Linked DNA regions of Homo sapiens: region 2 is linked to region 1. The links are contacts of gene promoters, found by promoter capture Hi-C in blood cells and fetal thymus (Javierre and others, 2016). All regions are on one chromosome and are shown on one strand. The core of a region is centred on a gene start or on the middle of the fragment in contact, and the rest is flanking DNA. Distances in the headings are between cores, read along the strand shown. Region 1 holds the start of FUT1 (fucosyltransferase 1 (H blood group)). Region 2 holds the start of NUCB1-AS1 (NUCB1 antisense RNA 1).

Evidence for each region. Contacts are between HindIII fragments. The CHiCAGO score rates a contact against its expected background, and 5 or more counts as called.
Region 2: the fragment with the promoter of NUCB1-AS1 here is called in contact with the fragment with the promoter of FUT1 in region 1 in 2 of 17 cell types (naive B cells and monocytes); the score reaches 5.4 in naive B cells.

The regions. Positions count from the first base shown.
Region 1 is chr19:48,749,248-48,754,698 of GRCh38, reverse strand. It overlaps FUT1 (fucosyltransferase 1 (H blood group)), which reads left to right and starts at 2,058. Exons shown (of 2, transcript NM_001384359.1): 1 at 2,058-2,209; 2 at 3,416-5,451. The coding sequence starts at 3,418. The coding sequence ends at 4,515. RefSeq lists enhancers at 1,270-1,856, 3,062-3,701 and a silencer at 1,972-2,021. The HindIII fragment of the contact is 14,557 bases long and covers 1-4,601 here.
Region 2 is chr19:48,915,893-48,921,343 of GRCh38, reverse strand. It overlaps NUCB1-AS1 (NUCB1 antisense RNA 1), which reads left to right and starts at 2,453. Exons shown (of 2, transcript NR_046633.1): 1 at 2,453-2,640. NUCB1 (nucleobindin 1) reads right to left here. Exons shown (of 13, transcript NM_006184.6): 8 at 2,560-2,618; 9 at 2,222-2,314; 10 at 2,058-2,150; 11 at 20-190. RefSeq lists an enhancer at 1,755-2,254. The HindIII fragment of the contact is 8,372 bases long and covers 1-5,451 here.

The DNA of each region.
Region 1 (5,451 bases), core at 809-3,308:
ATAGTTATCATACAAATTAGATATAGAGATGATCATGGACAGTATCAATCATTAGTGTAAACATTATTAATCATTAGCTATTACTTTTATTCTTTGTTGTATAACTAATATAACCAGGAAACAACCGGTGGGTATAGGGTCAGGTACTGAAGGGACATTGTGAGAAGTGACCTAGAAGGCAAGAGGTGAGCCTTCTGTCACACCGGCATAAGGGCCTCTTGAGGGCTCCTTGGTCAAGCGGGAACGCCAGTGTCTGGGAAGGCACCCGTTACTCAGCAGACCACGAAAGGGAATCTCCTTTTCTTGGAGGAGTCAGGGAACACTCTGCTCCACCAGCTTCTTGTGGGAGGCTGGGTATTATCTAGGCCTGCCCGCAGTCATCCTGCTGTGCTGTGCTTCAATGGTCACGCTCCTTGTCCTCTTGCATTTTCCTCCCGTACTCCTGGTTCCTCTTTGAAGTTCGTAGTAGATAGCGGTAGAAGAAATAGTGAAAGCCTTTTTTTTTTTTTTTTTGAGGCGGAGTCTCGCTCTGTCCCCCAGGCTGGAGTGCAGTGGCGTGATCTCGGCTCACTGCAATCTCCGCCTCCTGGGTTCACACCATTCTCCTGCCTCACCCTCCCAAATAGCTAGGACTACAGGCGCCCTCCACCACGCGCCCGGATAATTTTTTGTATTTTTAGTAGAGACAGGGTTTCACCGTGTTAGCCAGGATGGCCTCCACCTCCTGACCTTGTGATCCGCCCGCCTCAGCCTCCCAAAGTGCTGGGATTACAGGCGTGAGCCACCGCGCCCGCCCGAAATAGTGAAAGTCTTAAAGTCTTTGATCTTTCTTATAAGTGCAGAGAAGAAAACGCTGACATATGCTGCCTTCTCTTTCTGCTTCGGCTGCCTAAAAGGGAAGGGCCCCCTGTCCCATGATCACGTGACTTGCTTGACCTTATCAGTCATTTGGACGACTCACCCTCCTTATCCTGCCCCCCCTTGTCTTGTATACAATAAATATCAGCGCGCCCAGCCATTCGGGGCCACTACCGGTCTCTGCGTCTTGATGGTAGTGGTCCCCCGGGCCCAGCTGTTTTCTCTTTATCTCTTTGTCTTGTGTCTTTATTTCTTACAATCTCTCCTCTCCTCACAGGGGAAGAACACCCACCCGCAAAGCCCCGTAGGGCTGGACCCTACGTTAGCCTGCCCTGCTCGGGGTTGGCGATGCTGGAGGTGGGCCTTGGACCAGAGAAAATGCTTTAATTAGGTGACAAGCGGGCAGAGGCCTTTGTCTCTGGCGCCGGCAGCCACGGCCCCCGCTGACGGCGTGGGAAACAGACCCTGTTCCACTCCGGTCTCCAGCCTTGGAATGGTTGCCTTCGTGCAGTGCAGGTCTGGAAAGTAGCAGTTTGGCACGGGACCCTAGAATTCCCCAAAAGGAGTGACTAGGGGCTGGGATTCTGGAATTTGAGTGTGGACGGTGAGGCGGGGGGTGTGGGAGATCGGAGACCCTGGTGGGCGCGGGAGCACCTGCAGGCTGGAGGCCCTCGCGCGCTCCGGCGGCAGCCTGGCAAACAGGTTCTCCATCCCCCAGGAGGACGCGGCAGAGGGCGGACGATCGCTCCACTCGCCGGGACCAGGTGCGGGGGCCCTGCCCAGCCGCTGGGGCGTGGCCAGGCTCGAAGCACCCAGGTGTCGGGGGCCGACTCTAAGCCCTGGCACCGGAAGAGAGAGGGCGGCGGATTGGACCTCCCGGCTCCAGCATTGCAACTGGGCGCTCCGTCTCCTGGTCCACGCAATGATGCTGCGGCTGCTCAGAAGCCAGGTAGCCTGCCCTGGGTGAAGCCTTCGCGCAGGTCAATGACGGGGCGGAGGGGCAGGGCGCGGTCCCCTGCATCCCCGATCTGGGGAGCGGTGGGCCCAGGGGCCATCGCCTTAGCCCCTGGCGCTGGGGCTCGGCGCCAAGTGACGGGCGGGGCTCCACCTTCCAGCCATCCGCCCGGCCCGGGAGGGCGGACGCTGCGAGACTCCCGGCCGCGCCCTCTCCTTCCTCTCCTCCCCAAGCCCTCGCTGCCAGTCCGGACAGGCTGCGCGGAGGGGAGGGCTGCCGGGCCGGATAGCCGGACGCCTGGCGTTCCAGGGGCGGCCGGATGTGGCCTGCCTTTGCGGAGGGTGCGCTCCGGCCACGAAAAGCGGACTGTGGATCTGCCACCTGCAAGCAGCTCGGGTAAGTGGGGACTGCCCCACTCAGTTGTTCCTGGGACCCAGGAACAACTCCTTCAGAACCAGGAGGTGCACCCCCAACCTCTTCTCCAGGTCTTCCTAAGGCCCTAGGAATCTCCGCCACCTCCCCAGCCATTACTCCTCCAGGAACCAAGATGCTCCTTCCGCTCCTGACCCTCCAGCCTCTCTTGTTTTACTTGAACTATCGTTTCCCATCACCACCTCTGTGGTGGATTTTGCGCCTCACAGACAGGTACTCCTGAGAAACAGGCTGGTGGAAGAGTCCAGTATCAGCGGAACTTACAGGAGGGGAGACTCGAGATTCCTTCAGGAAAGGTGTAGGAACCTGGACCACTTTCTTTTTTTTTTTTTTTTTTTTTTTTTAAGACAGGGTCCCTCTCTGTCGCGCAAGCTGGAGTGCAGTCAGCGGTGCTATCGCGGCTCATTGTGAGCTCCGGGGATCCTCCCGCCTTAGCATCCGGTGTAGCTGAGACCACAGACATGTGCCACCATGCCAAGCTAATTTTATTTATTTTTTTTTGGAGACGGAGTTTCACTCTTGTTGCCCAGGCTGGAGTGTAATGGCATGATCTCAGCTCACCGCAACTCCCGCCCCCCGGGTTCAGGCGATTCTCCTGCCTCAGCCTCCCGAGTGGCTGGGATTACAGGCATGCGCCACCATGCCCGGCTAATTTTGTATTTTAAGTAGAGACAGGGTTTCTCCACGTTGGTCAGGCTGGTCTCGAACTCCCAACCTCAGGTGATCCACCCACCTTGGCCTCCCAAAGTGCTGGGGTTACAGGTGTGAGCCACCGCGCCTGGCCCATGCCAAGCTAATTTTAAAATTTTTTTGTAAGAGTGCTCTGTTGCCCAGGCTGATCTTGAACTCCTGGGCTCAAGGGATCCTCCCATCTCAGCCTCCCAATATGCTGGGATTACAGGTGTGAGCCACAGTGCCCAGCCAAACCATGGCTATCTTGAAAACCACTTGTCTTCCAGTCCCCATGCCCCGAAATTCCAAGGCTCTCATCCCTGAAACCTAGGACTCAGGCTCTCCCTACCTCAGCCCCAGGAGTCTAAACCTTTAACTTCCTCTTTCCCTGGGACTAAGGAGTGCTGCACCCCAGGCGCCTCCCTTACCCCACATCCCTCCTCAGCCTCCCCTCCTCAGCCTCAGAGCATTTGCTAATTCGCCTTTCCTCCCCTGCAGCCATGTGGCTCCGGAGCCATCGTCAGCTCTGCCTGGCCTTCCTGCTAGTCTGTGTCCTCTCTGTAATCTTCTTCCTCCATATCCATCAAGACAGCTTTCCACATGGCCTAGGCCTGTCGATCCTGTGTCCAGACCGCCGCCTGGTGACACCCCCAGTGGCCATCTTCTGCCTGCCGGGTACTGCGATGGGCCCCAACGCCTCCTCTTCCTGTCCCCAGCACCCTGCTTCCCTCTCCGGCACCTGGACTGTCTACCCCAATGGCCGGTTTGGTAATCAGATGGGACAGTATGCCACGCTGCTGGCTCTGGCCCAGCTCAACGGCCGCCGGGCCTTTATCCTGCCTGCCATGCATGCCGCCCTGGCCCCGGTATTCCGCATCACCCTGCCCGTGCTGGCCCCAGAAGTGGACAGCCGCACGCCGTGGCGGGAGCTGCAGCTTCACGACTGGATGTCGGAGGAGTACGCGGACTTGAGAGATCCTTTCCTGAAGCTCTCTGGCTTCCCCTGCTCTTGGACTTTCTTCCACCATCTCCGGGAACAGATCCGCAGAGAGTTCACCCTGCACGACCACCTTCGGGAAGAGGCGCAGAGTGTGCTGGGTCAGCTCCGCCTGGGCCGCACAGGGGACCGCCCGCGCACCTTTGTCGGCGTCCACGTGCGCCGTGGGGACTATCTGCAGGTTATGCCTCAGCGCTGGAAGGGTGTGGTGGGCGACAGCGCCTACCTCCGGCAGGCCATGGACTGGTTCCGGGCACGGCACGAAGCCCCCGTTTTCGTGGTCACCAGCAACGGCATGGAGTGGTGTAAAGAAAACATCGACACCTCCCAGGGCGATGTGACGTTTGCTGGCGATGGACAGGAGGCTACACCGTGGAAAGACTTTGCCCTGCTCACACAGTGCAACCACACCATTATGACCATTGGCACCTTCGGCTTCTGGGCTGCCTACCTGGCTGGCGGAGACACTGTCTACCTGGCCAACTTCACCCTGCCAGACTCTGAGTTCCTGAAGATCTTTAAGCCGGAGGCGGCCTTCCTGCCCGAGTGGGTGGGCATTAATGCAGACTTGTCTCCACTCTGGACATTGGCTAAGCCTTGAGAGCCAGGGAGACTTTCTGAAGTAGCCTGATCTTTCTAGAGCCAGCAGTACGTGGCTTCAGAGGCCTGGCATCTTCTGGAGAAGCTTGTGGTGTTCCTGAAGCAAATGGGTGCCCGTATCCAGAGTGATTCTAGTTGGGAGAGTTGGAGAGAAGGGGGACGTTTCTGGAACTGTCTGAATATTCTAGAACTAGCAAAACATCTTTTCCTGATGGCTGGCAGGCAGTTCTAGAAGCCACAGTGCCCACCTGCTCTTCCCAGCCCATATCTACAGTACTTCCAGATGGCTGCCCCCAGGAATGGGGAACTCTCCCTCTGGTCTACTCTAGAAGAGGGGTTACTTCTCCCCTGGGTCCTCCAAAGACTGAAGGAGCATATGATTGCTCCAGAGCAAGCATTCACCAAGTCCCCTTCTGTGTTTCTGGAGTGATTCTAGAGGGAGACTTGTTCTAGAGAGGACCAGGTTTGATGCCTGTGAAGAACCCTGCAGGGCCCTTATGGACAGGATGGGGTTCTGGAAATCCAGATAACTAAGGTGAAGAATCTTTTTAGTTTTTTTTTTTTTTTTTTGGAGACAGGGTCTCGCTCTGTTGCCCAGGCTGGAGTGCAGTGGCGTGATCTTGGCTCACTGCAACTTCCGCCTCCTGTGTTCAAGCGATTCTCCTGTCTCAGCCTCCTGAGTAGATGGGACTACAGGCACAGGCCATTATGCCTGGCTAATTTTTGTATTTTTAGTAGAGACAGGGTTTCACCATGTTGGCCAGGATGGTCTCGATCTCCTGACCTTGTCATCCACCTGTCTTGGCCTCCCAAAGTGCTGGGATTACTGGCATGAGCCACTGTGCCCAGCCCGGATATTTTTTTTTTAATTATTTATTTATTTATTTATTTATTGAGACGGAGTCTTGCTCTGTAGCCCAGGCCAGAGTGCAGTGGC
Region 2 (5,451 bases), core at 1,204-3,703, 170 kb before region 1:
CAGCTTCCCCCGCTGTCACCTGCTGCAGCTCTCTCTTCTGGGCCTCCAGGCGGCCCTGGGACCGCCCTAGAGCCTCTGTCTCCTGGCTGAGGCGCTGGGCCTTGGCATTCAGCTCTGCCTCCCGGGCAGCCAGCTCCTCTTCAAAGCGCCTCAGCTCTTCCTCGGTGTAGGCAGGGTGCATCTCCACTGTCTGCAGGGCAGGCACAGGGGCCATCAGGGGCACAGGTCCAACCTCGGCCCACCCATGTTGGAGAGGGTTGTGCCAATGGGGGAGGTGTAGAGGAGGCTGGGAGGCCAGGGCCATGTGGGTGGGCAAAGAAGCCCAAGTGGGAGGTGGGAGTGGGATAAAGACCGAGAGACAAGGCCGGGCACCATGGCTCCCACCTGTAATCCCAGGACTTTGGGAGGCGAAAGTGGGAAGGATCACTTGACGCCAGGAGTTCAAGGTCAGCCTGGGCAACGGAGCGAGACCCTGTCTCTACAGAAAATTGGCTGGGCATCTTGAAAAATATATAGAAATAGGCCAGGCACCATGGCTCACACCTGTAATCCCAGCACTTTCGGAGGCCGAGGTGGGTGGCTCACCTGAGGTCAGTAGTTTGAGATGAGCCTGACCAACATGGAGAAACCCCGTCTCTACTAAAAATACAAAATGAGCAGGGCATGGTGGTACATGCATATAATCCCAGCTACTCAGGAGGCTGAGGCAGGAGAATTGCTTGAACCTGGGAGGTGGAGGTTGCAATGAGCTGAGAATGCACCATTGCACTACAGCCTGGGCAACAAGAGCAAAACTCTGTATTGAAAAATAAACAAACAAATAAATAAATAAATAAAACAGAGACCTAGATTAGCTGGGCATGGTGGTATGTGCCTGTAGTCCCAGTTACTCAGGAGGCTAAGGAAGGAGGATCACCTGAGCCCAGGAATTCAAGGCTGCAGTGAACTATGATTACACCACTGCACTCCAGCCTGGGTGACAGGAGACCCTGTCTCAAAAAATATTAATAAATAAATAAAAGAATGAGCTAGATTAGCTAGGCATGCTGGCATGTGCCTGTAGTCCCAGCTAATAGGGAGGCTCAGGCAGGAGGATCACTTGAGGACAGGAGTTTGAGGCTGCAGTGGGCCATGATAACACCCCTGCACTCCAGCCTGGGTAATCCCAGCACTTTGGGAGGCTGAGAAGGGTGGATAGCTTGAGTCCAGGAGTTTCAGAGCAGCCTGGCCAACATGCAAAACCCTGTCTCTACCAAAAAATACAAAAATTAGCTAGGTGTGGTGCGGTGGTGCATGCCTGTAATCCCACCACTTAGGGAGGCCAGGTCAGGTGGATCGCTTGAGTCCAGCAGTTCTAGAGCAGCCTGGCCGATATGGCAAAACCCCATCTCTACAAAAAATACAAAAATTAGCCAGGCATGGTGGCTCACGCCTGTAATCCCAGCTACTCATGAGGCTGAGATGGGAGGATCGCTTGAATCCAAGAGGCGGAGGTTGCAGTGAGCCGAGATCCCACCACTGGGCTCCAGCCTACGCGACAGAGCAAGACCCTGTTTCAGAAAAAAAAAAAAAAAAAAAAAAATCACACCTCTAATCCCAGCACTTTGGGAGGCCAAGGTGGGTGGATAACCTGAGGTCAGGAGTTTGAGACCAGCCTGGCCAACATGGTGAAATCCTGCCTCTACTAAAAATACAAAAATCAGCTGGGTGTGGTGGCACGCACCTATAATCCCAGCTACTCAAGAGGATGAGCCAGGAGAATTGCTTGAACCTGGGAGGTGGAGGCTGCAGTGAGCCGAGATCGTGCCACTGCACTGCAGCCTGGGCGATGGAGTGAGACTCCGTCTCAGAATAAATAAATAAATAAATAAATAAATAAATAAATAAATAAGAGTCCTAGAGACAGGGGAAAACAGAGACCCAGAGATAGAGATGCAGTGACCCAGGAGAATGGACGGGGACCCAGAGAGAAAGAGAAGGGGCCTAAGATTCTGAAAGAAAGGTCATGGCTAGAAGAGAGAGAGGTTCAGGACCCCGAGTATCCCCCATGTTCTCACCTCCCAGCCCTCCCCGGTGTCCCCAAACTCCTTCCTCTGAGTGGATGCGAGGAACTCCTCCAGGGTCACGAGGCGGTCCTGGTTGGTGTCCACCTGGGGAGCCAGATAAGGGTGAGTGACAGAGCTGGGGGCCCGTCCTCTCCCCCGCCTGGCCCCCACCTCACATTCTTCATCACATGCTCCCGCATGCGCAGTCGCTCCTCCTCCATCTCCCGCATGTCGTCCTCCTCATTCTTTGGGTCGTACACTTTCTCCAGCTGCAGGAGCAAGCGAGAGGCAGACAGCATTGAGAGGTCCCCAGCGAGCTCATTCCCGACAACTTCAACTCCCAGCAGTCCTTTGGGCACGCTACCACTCCTGGGAGCCGTTTTTGCCCCAGGGGCTGATGGGAGTTGTAGTTTTCACTGAGCTCCCATCCAGGGGGATTTAAGGGGACTGCAGGAGGAAACAAGTGGCTGATTTGGGCGTCCCTCCAGGTGCCCGAGGCTTCCAAGATGCTCACCTCCTTGGTGAAGAGTGCCTCCAGCTCCTGCTCATCCAGGACACCATCACTGTTGATATCTGAAGGGAAGAGGATAGCAAGGTATCTCAGGGGACCGAGGACGGGATGTGTAAGGTCCCTGGTGAAGAAATTTTGGGCTGATGTGGGGTCTGTTATCAGAGGACAGGTAACTACGGGTCTCCCGCGGTGGAACGGTGGCCCCCAGGCTTTAGTACCCCACTAGACCCGTTGCTAGGGCCACTGCCTAGCGACCAGGGGGTTGAGAATGGAATAGATCAAAGGGAGGGTTCGAGGAAACATGCTTGGGTCACTGTCATGCAGGATTCTCTGGCCCTGGCATTCAGTGCTCTGGACACAGAGTCAGCTCCAGGGTTATCAGGGACCTCTGCCTCCCAGACAACCAGGCCAGTGCCGACTCCAGTTGTGAGGGGAGCCTCTCCTACCAACGTAGACCCCACAGCTGCAGGGCTTCAGGCTCGGTCAGCCACACTTCCTGTCCTCACCACCGGCCCTCCTTCCTCGGCTCCCTCAGACAAGCACAACCTTCCTCCTGAGGAGGAGGCCAGGAACCCTCATCTTGCAAATCCAGTGGTTAATTTCCACCTGCATCTGACTTGACTTTCTGCCCTTGGCTTCCAGAACATGATTCTGTCCTCTCTGGCTGCCCCTCCACCTCCTTTGACGGCTCCATCCTCTTCCTGACCTCCACATGCTAGTGTGGCCCAGGGCTCAGGCCTGGGGGTCTCTTCTCTGCCTAAACTCTGGATCTGCGCTGTCCAGTACAGTAGCCGCTAGCCACATGGGCTGTTTAAATGTAAATTGATTAAGATTAAAGAAAATGTAGGGGCCAAATTTAGGGGCTCATGCCTGTAATCCCAGTACTTTGGAAGGCTAAGGCAAGATCATTTGAGCACATTAAGTTCGAGACCAGCTTAGAAAAGATGGCTAGACCCCGTCTCTACAAAAAAAAAAAAAAAAGTAAAAAATTGGGCCGGGTGCGGTGGCTCACGCCTGTAATCCCAGCACTTTGGGAGGCCGAGGCAGGAGGATCACCTGAAGTCAGGAGTTCAAGACCAGCCTGGCCAGCATAGTAAAACCCCGTCTCTACAAAAATACAAAAATTAGCCAGGCATAATGCCAAGTGCCTGTAACCCCAGCTACTCAGGAGGCTGAGGCAGGAGAATAGCTTGAACCTGGGAGGCGGGGGTTGCAGTGTGCCAAGATCATGCCATTGCACTCCAGCCTGGGCAACAGAGCAAGACTCTGCCTCAAAAAGAAAAAAAAAATTTAAAAATTGGCTGGGCATGGTGGTGTGCACCTATGATCCCAGCTACTCTAAGGGTTGAGGTGGAAGAATCACTTGAGCCCAGGAGGTCTGGGTTGCAGTGAGCCATGATCACGCCACTGCACTCCAGCCTGGGTGACAAAGGGAAGCCCCATCTCTAAAAATAAAAAAAATGAAAAATAAAAAAAGGTATAGGGAGTTGCTCTGAACCTATTCTGGTCTGTAGGGACTGCCTGATTAAAAAGATTAAATAAGGTTTTTATTTTTTTATTTTTTAGAGACAGGGTCTCACTCTGTCACCCAGGCTGGAGTGCAATGGTGTGATCGTAGCTCACTGAAGCCTTGAACTCCTCGGCTCAAGTGATCCTCCCACCTCAGCCTCCCAAGTAGCTGGGACTACAGATGCACGCCACCACACCCAGCTAATTTTTGTATTTGTTTTCATAGAGATGGGGTTTTGCCATGTTGCCCAGGCTGGTCTTGAACTCCTGGTCTCAAGGGATCCAGCCGCCTTGGCTTCGCAAAGTGCTGGGATTATAGGGGTAAGCCACTGCGCCGGGCCTATTTATTTGTTTATTTATTTTTGAGACAGAGTCTCGCTCTGTTGCCAGGCTGGAGTGCAGTGGCATGATCTCAGCTCACTGCAACCTCCACCTCCAGGGTTTAAGTGATTCTCCTGCCTCAGCCTCCTGAGTAGCTGGGACTGCAGGTGCGTGCCACCATGCCCAGATAATTTTTGTATTTTTAGTAGAGACGGGGTTTCACTATGTTGGCCAGGATGGTCTCGATCTCTTGAGCTCCTGATCTGCCTGCCTTGGCCTCCGAAAGTGCTGGGACTACAGGCGTGAGCCACTGAGCCCAGCCTATTTTCTATTTTTTAGAGACAGGGTTTCACTCTGTTGCCCAGGCTGGAGGGCACTGGTATGATCATAGCTCACTGCAGCCTTGAATTCCTGGACTCAAGTGATCCTCCCACCTCTGCCTCCCAAGGAGCTGGGACTACAGATGCACGCCACCACACCCAGCTAATTTTTGTATTTTATTTGTAGAGATGGGTTTGTGCCATGTTGCCCAGGCTGGCCTTGAACTCCTGGACTCAAGGGATCCACCCACCTCGGCCTCCCAAAGTGCTGGGATTACAGGCGTGAGCCACCGCATCCAGCCCAAATGTCCTCTCTAGAGCTGTGCTGGGACTCCAGTACAGCAGCCACTAGCCACATGGGGCAATTGAAATAGAAATTAATATCCAGTAGAATGAAAACTTCAGTTCCTCACCATTATGCTAAGTGAAATAAGCCAAACACACACACACACACACACACACACACGACAAATACCAAAAGATTCTACTTGCATGAAGTACCTAAAATAGTCAAAATCATAGAGACAGAAAATAGAATGGTGGTTGCTAGAGAGCAGGGGAAAGAAGGGGAGGGCGAGTGGTTTAATGGATACGGTTTCGGTTGTGCGAGATGAAGAGCTCTCAGAATTGGTTGCATGACAGTGTAAATATACTTAATACTATTGAACTGTACAATTAAACATCTTTAAAGCTGGGCGCAGTGGCACACACCTGCAGTCTCAGCTACTCAGGTGACTGAGGCAGG